Regions from separate parts of the Homo sapiens genome. Here region 2 is linked to region 1. Evidence: promoter capture Hi-C in human tissues and cell types (Jung and others, 2019). All regions are on one chromosome and are shown on one strand. The core of a region is centred on a gene start or on the middle of the fragment in contact, and the rest is flanking DNA. Distances in the headings are between cores, read along the strand shown. Region 1 holds the start of PSTPIP2 (proline-serine-threonine phosphatase interacting protein 2). Region 2 overlaps SLC14A2 (solute carrier family 14 member 2).

Region 1 (3,218 bases), core at 385-2,884:
GCCTCAGCCTCCCAAGTAACTATATCTACAGGCATGCACCACCATGCCCAGCTAATTTTTAAGATTTTTTTGTAGAGACAGACAGAGTCTCACTATGTTGCCCAGGGTGGTCTCGAACTCCTGGCCTCAAGCAATCCTCCTACCTCGGCCTCCCAACGTGCTGGGATCACAGGCATGAGCCACTGTGCCTGAACTAAATACTGTTAGTATCACGTCTGCCTCCTTCTCCTTATGTCTCCACGAACCAGTTCCTCTGCTGACTTCCTTATTTCTGGGGCCCACATCTCATTCTCCAGTTTGTATTATACAGAGCCTTTTTCCCACAGTGCCTGCCATGGGATCCCCCAGTCCTCCATTCTACCTGAAAAACTCGCAAGCCTCCCGTGAGAGCCATCTGTGGTGCCCTTGGTTCCTCTGTGAGGCTGCCACCACCCTGCACCCTAGGGTGAGTAGTGCCCCAGAAGGACCTCACAAACTCCAGTGAAGGGACTCACAGGCACAGTCTCAACTGTGTCCCTGAGGTCCCCAGCCAGGTTTCTCTACCCTGCAGCCCACGTGGGGTAGAGGGACCATCTAGGCAGCTGTGAAGCTACCTGGGTGGGTGGTGGGGGGAGGCAAGCAGGAGCCCCAGTAAGGAGTCAGGGCCCCTTGGCAGCTGCGGTCAACTTTGAGGTTTGCAGCCTCCTGCTCCTGTCTTAAAGGGATGAGGACAGCTCCTCTGAATGAGGGGGCATGGACCTTGAGGGGCACCTGGGGAGTGAGAGGACAGAGGGAAGAGGACTAGACAGAGGAGGGGGACAGGCAGACCTGCTCCCTCCAGGCTGGGCTGGCCCTACCGGGCTGGGTGGGGTACCCCCTCCAGCTTATAGGGTCTCCCACACCATCAGCCCCGCTATGGGGCCTGGACGGAAGGGCTGGGGCAATGGCCTGGGGAGGGGGCTCGGGAAACAAGGCTGTAGAACAGGGAAAGCTCCAGCAAAGGGAAGCCCTCTATGCTGTACGTTTCCTGGAAAGGACGATCCCGGGGGGCAGCTGCTGCTGTCAACCCGGTAAAGCTCACAAGCCCCCACACCAGATCCCCCCAGATCCTCTCACGGCTCAGCTCCAGGGACCGGCAGAGACTCTCCCCGGACGGGTCTCGCCTCCCTAAGGGTCTCTGCTTCGCCTGTGAGAGGAGGGGTTGATGTCCTGACTCTAAGGTGTCTCGGCTCTCTGCGTCCTCAGGAGCACGCGCTGCTGGGGGCGCGGGCGGCAGAGGGTGGGCCCTGGAGTCCGAGCCCCCGGGACTCGCGGGCACGCGGTGGGTAGCGGGGGACAGAGAGGGAACAGCAGCCCGGCGTCCGCTCCAAGTCTGCCCCTCGAGCAGTGGGGCTGGGGCCCCGATCCCTTCACGCGCGAGCTCCGCCAAGCCCCCGGGCGCGCGGTCACCGAGTGGCGCCGGAGCTGGGGAGCCCCCCACGCCCGCCGCGTTGGCCTCCCGCCCGGGCCGGGTCCTGAGCCCCGCGATCCGCTGTCGGCCCCACGACTTACCCAAAAGTTTCCCTTGAACAGTGAGCGCGTCATCGCAGCGCGAGTGGGGGCGCGGAGGAGAGCCGGGCCGCAGGTAGCACAGAGCGGGGAGGCCTGACTGCCACTGCCCGCGGCTCCGCAGACTCAACTTCTGCGTTCCACACTCGCGCAGGGAAGCCGCCCCCGGGTCCTAAACCACTCCCGATTGCGACGGCCGCCGTCGGCGCTCTGCGCTCCCTGCGCGAGACCTGGGCGGGACCCTCGGCGCTCACCCGGCCAGGGGCTGCAGCCCGCACCCGGACCCAGGCCCATTTAAAGCCCCACAGCGTCGGGCCACGATCAATATATCAGCCCGAAGCTAGCTGCCTCCTTCTGGAAGTCTTTGGGTATTGGAAATAACTGGTCCTGGCTTGGGTTCCTGCCCACAAGGCCCCCTGGACAGCACGAAATCCAGGCTCTGCGGGGTGATAGACGGGATCTGATCAGATGGTCGCGAGGACCCGGTTTAAGCTACAGAAGGCCTGGGGCCGACAACTCCCGCAGACGCCTTGGCTTCACGGCGGGCCCCACCGGCACCTGCTGCAGATCAGGCCCTGGGGGACGGTTCATTTTTTATTTTACTTTTTGTTGTTGCAGGTGTTTTTAATGAATGGGGTCACGTTTTAGTCTAAAATGTCATGGAGAGGTCATCTCTGCTGTTTCCCCTTGACTCTAGTCACTTGGTGGTGTCCTAACAGGGCTTCCAGGAGCTCAGCCGCTCTCTGACTCCCTTTCCATTCTCAAAAGGCAAGACCCTTCCCTGCCCATTCCACCCCAGCAAGAGGGGCCCAAGATTCCTTCTTCTCCCTCCACTCTTCCACCCTCACAAATAAAACCCCAGGGCAGGTCAGACCCCTCTCTGCATTGTAGTAGATTGGTACAAAAGTAATTGCGGTTTTTGCCATGACTTTTAATAGTAATGCAGGGCTTATGACAAAGTACTGCCTGGTGCGACAGGCCCGAAGCCCAACCTGAGGCCCAGAGGGGTTGAATGGCTTGCCCAAGATCACAGTTTATTTAAGGGATGAAGAGCTCAAGGTTAGAGCTCTGCCCTTCTAAATAGATGCAAAGACAGACATCCTTCCTGGGGCAGATCCATCCTGGGCAGAGGAATAGGTGCTCAAAGTGGGGAGGATAAAGGTCAAGGTTGCCAAGACTGGCACCAGCCCAGCCTGGAGAAGCAAGCACTCACCCCTGGAGCAGGTTCTAGCTACACCCAGACACAGTGAAAGGGCAATTGCTAGAATTATGTGAAGCACCTGGAACAAGTTCTGCTCCATAAAACTGCAGCCAGCCCCACTCAGATGAACTCCCACCAATAAAGTCATCCACAACTGCAAAGATGGAGAGGTGGCCTCCAGCCACCAAGCATCTCCAAGGGATGCATCCATTTACGTACTTGCTCATATCCTTTGAAAGCAGTGAGATTAGAAGGAAGGCAGAGAAGCCTGGCAGAACCATCAAGGGGCAGCAGAGGACGTGGTAGGCACTAGGAAGCTAGGCTTAACTGCAGGGGGTAAGAAATGGCACAAACTGGGGACATAGAAGCGGGAGAGCTGAAGACACCACTAAGGTTTTTCCTGGAAGTTTTAAATATTCTGGAAAAATAGTTTAGATACAATTCTAATTGTCACATTTTAATTTTTAATACATGTATAATTTTAAGTTAT
Region 2 (3,218 bases), core at 328-2,827, 430 kb before region 1:
GTGATGAGTTGAGACCCCCATATTCCACTGCAGACCTTCTCGCCAACCAATTTGTGGACTATCCATGCTCTCAACTTCTCTAGAAACATCTATACCAGATGATGGGCCTCAGCAGGGTATCAGAAAGGGTTGCTGCCACATCCATAGATCCTTTCAACAGTACTTATTGAGCATGTAACATGGCCTGGACACTTTTTCAGATACTGATAATACAAGACAATGACATCCTGCTCTTAGGAAGCCTACATTCTATACGGGGAAACAGATAACATGCAAGTGAACAGATAAGCGTTGACAGTACAGAACTGTGGTGGTTGAGTGAAAGATATTAGATAAAATGTATAGTCAGATAAAGGGGCAAGATACTAAAATAAACATTTAAAATTGGGATTTTAAAGGCATTAGCATAGAAGACAGAGGGTTAATTTTTATATACTCTCTCTCTTAGTGGTTCTCAGGCAGGGATAATTTTGCCCCTTGGAGACATTAGGCAATGTCTGGAGACATTTTTATTGTCAAGACTAGAGAGGTCCCCAGCACGCTGCTCCCAGGCCACTTCCCTCTTTCTCTTTGAAACAACAGAGAAAGGCCTTCCTTTTCCTTTTTGTTTAATCAGCTTATTGTTGCTATATAAGAATTATGAGGAGTGTGAAGAAGGCCTGGTGCTTAGTAAATTTCCATGGCACACCTGACTGCCCTTCACACCAGGGTGTCAGCTGCGGCCTGGGAGCAGCGTGCTGGGAGGGAAGGCCGCCCTGGGGCACAGCTCACCAGGCTGAAATATAGATCCCAGCGGAGGAAGCTTCATTCTAAACCCAGGCTCCATTCCAAGGCCACTCATTCCCTCATTCCTCTCATTCTTGACCGCTTGGGCTTAAAATCTGCGTTCCCGGATGGAAAGGTGGACGTGAACTCCCCTCAGCATCCCGCATTCCTCAGATGTTGGCAATCATGGGATATTTATTAAATAGACTTCCAGCCTGTTCCCAACATTTAAGCTGAGTTCCCTGGTCTGGTACAAAGTGTTTTCTGGGTTTCTATAAATAAATATGATTGAGTACCCCTCCCTTGCCATTCCTTTCGCAAGATTATAAACTCTGGTCCAAACAGCATTTGGTTATTAAAAGACCATTCATTCAGAGACAAGAGTGAGCAAAGTTTAAGAGCCCTCTAGGCTCTTCAAATACTACTCCCTGAAGAAATCATACTTATTCCAGAATTAAATCAAATTGTCAAAAAGTACAAAATTTGGTCCAAAGGGAGAAACTAAATTATTCCCAACATCTACAGCAACGTCTACAGTAGATCATCTATAACTAATCTCCCATCGCACACTAGACTCACCTGAGGACCTGCCATGCCCCATATCAATTAAATCAGAATGTCTAGGGAAGAGCTGGGCATCAGTATTTGTTTAAAGATTCCCAGGGGATTCCACTGTACAGCAAAGTTTGGGAACCACTGACCTAATCAATTCCTATTTGTTAAGCACCTATGGTGTACCTGGGCATAAAGGGCCCTGTCCTCACAGAGGTCATGTGACCTGGCAATGGTGAAAAGAACTACAGAGTCTTAAAGCTGGAAGATCATCTGCCAAGCCAGCCTCTTGTTACAGACGAGGATGTGACATGCTCACAGTCACACAGTGAACTGTGCAGAGCCCTGATGGAAGCTAGAGCCCTCTACTCCCAGGCCAGTGCTCTGCCTGCCCTGCCATTCTCCCTCCTTTCTTTTTCTGCCCTCAAAGGACTCCAAAAATATCGACAATTCAGCCTGGCCACAGAAAAGCCATCTGTCAGCACTGCCAAACAAATTCTCCCCAATTCCAGCACCAAGTTACTCTCAGGCTCAGGGATGTCTGGGCTTCAGGCCATTCTCCAGATGTGCCACATACTACCTTTCTACAATGCTATGCGGTCTTCGAGAGCAGGGGGCATGCCTACTGCTCCTTTCCAAAGGCTCACAACCCCCCAGGGTAGCAGTGAATGGGCAGGGGCCGCCAAAGAGGACGTGTCAGCAGTGGCTTGACAAAGAGACAGCAAGGGTGACAAAGACCTCAGACCTGAGCTAGGGGTCAAGCTCAGAGCCTCTAGCCTGCACTTGACCAACAACAGGCTGGGTGACTTTTAGTCAAATCATACATCAAAATGGCCTACTGTATTTTCAATATTCCTAGAATATTTGTATGGATTTCAGAAGGTCTAGAGGAAATCCCCGAGAGCCCTGAAACTCCCAGCGGCATTCTAGGGAGGAGGTGCATTCTGGTCCCCTCAAAGCAGAAGCCGTATGTTCCTCAGAAGCATCCATGCCCAGCCCATGTTGGGGGCCCTGGCTTTGCATGAGGGATGCTCACATGCCTGCTGGGTGGTAGAGTGAGGAGCTGTTTGTTCCAGCTCATGCCTCCCATGTTCTCTCACATGCTGGAGGGTACAGTCATCCTCCCGTTCCACTCCATTACTCCCCCGAGGAATGGCTCAAATCTGGCCCTGAGTCTGGTTTTTGCATTATTGTCCATGCTCCAGTGACCTGTATTCTGTTAACTTTGCAGCTGTTACAAGCCATCCCTGTTGGGGTCGGCCAGGTGTATGGCTGTGACAATCCCTGGACAGGCGGCGTGTTCCTGGTGGCTCTGTTCATCTCCTCGCCACTCATCTGCTTGCATGCAGCCATTGGCTCAATCGTGGGGCTGCTAGCAGGTAGGACAGAGCTCCCTCTCTTCAGGTCCTCAGGATAATTCACTCAAGGTCACTTTTCCCCTACATACAGCAAATCTTCCAGACATTCTCTTCCCTGCAGTTTTAAATACTTTCAGGGAGACAGGCACGGTGACTTATGCCTGTAATCCCAGCACTTTGGGAGGCCGAGGCACATAGATGACCTGAACTCAGGGTGAAAACCCATCTCTACTAAAGAAAAAAAAGTACAAAAATTAGCTGGGTGTGGTGGTGGGCACCCATAATCCCAGCTACTTGGGGAGCTGAGGCAGGAGAATCACTTGAACCCAGGAGGTGGAGGTTGCAATGAGCCAAGATCGTACCACCTCACTCCAGCCTGGGAAATAGAGTGAGACTCCGTCTTAAAAAAAAAAAAAATACATGTGGAGAGATGCAAGGGGGTAAGAACCAAGTTGGCCTGCAAACTGAGCCCCTGGAGCTGAGGATGCTGGAGAGACACAGGGGTAGGGGCGGGAGCAGTAACCAAGACCAACTGTGATAAAA

What was found. Contacts are between HindIII fragments. The study calls those that stand out against the background at their distance.
Region 2: a contact is called between a fragment that was not itself captured here and the fragment with the promoter of PSTPIP2 in region 1, in 2 of the 25 tissues and cell types used here (H1 embryonic stem cells and aorta).

Annotation. Positions count from the first base shown.
Region 1 is chr18:46,070,626-46,073,843 of GRCh38, forward strand. It overlaps PSTPIP2 (proline-serine-threonine phosphatase interacting protein 2), which reads right to left and starts at 1,635. Exons shown (of 15, transcript NM_024430.4): 1 at 1,531-1,635. The coding sequence starts at 1,563. RefSeq lists enhancers at 121-220, 261-320, 1,540-2,041 and silencers at 1,171-1,550, 1,591-1,640, 1,771-1,930. The HindIII fragment of the contact is 22,245 bases long and covers 1-3,218 here.
Region 2 is chr18:45,637,198-45,640,415 of GRCh38, forward strand. SLC14A2 (solute carrier family 14 member 2) reads left to right here. Exons shown (of 20, transcript NM_007163.4): 7 at 2,549-2,696. All of the region lies in intron 7 of LOC105372093 (a long non-coding RNA gene), which reads right to left. Among named protein-coding and RNA genes, the nearest start is that of SLC14A2, 23 kb to the left of the region's middle. The HindIII fragment of the contact is 5,893 bases long and covers 1-3,218 here.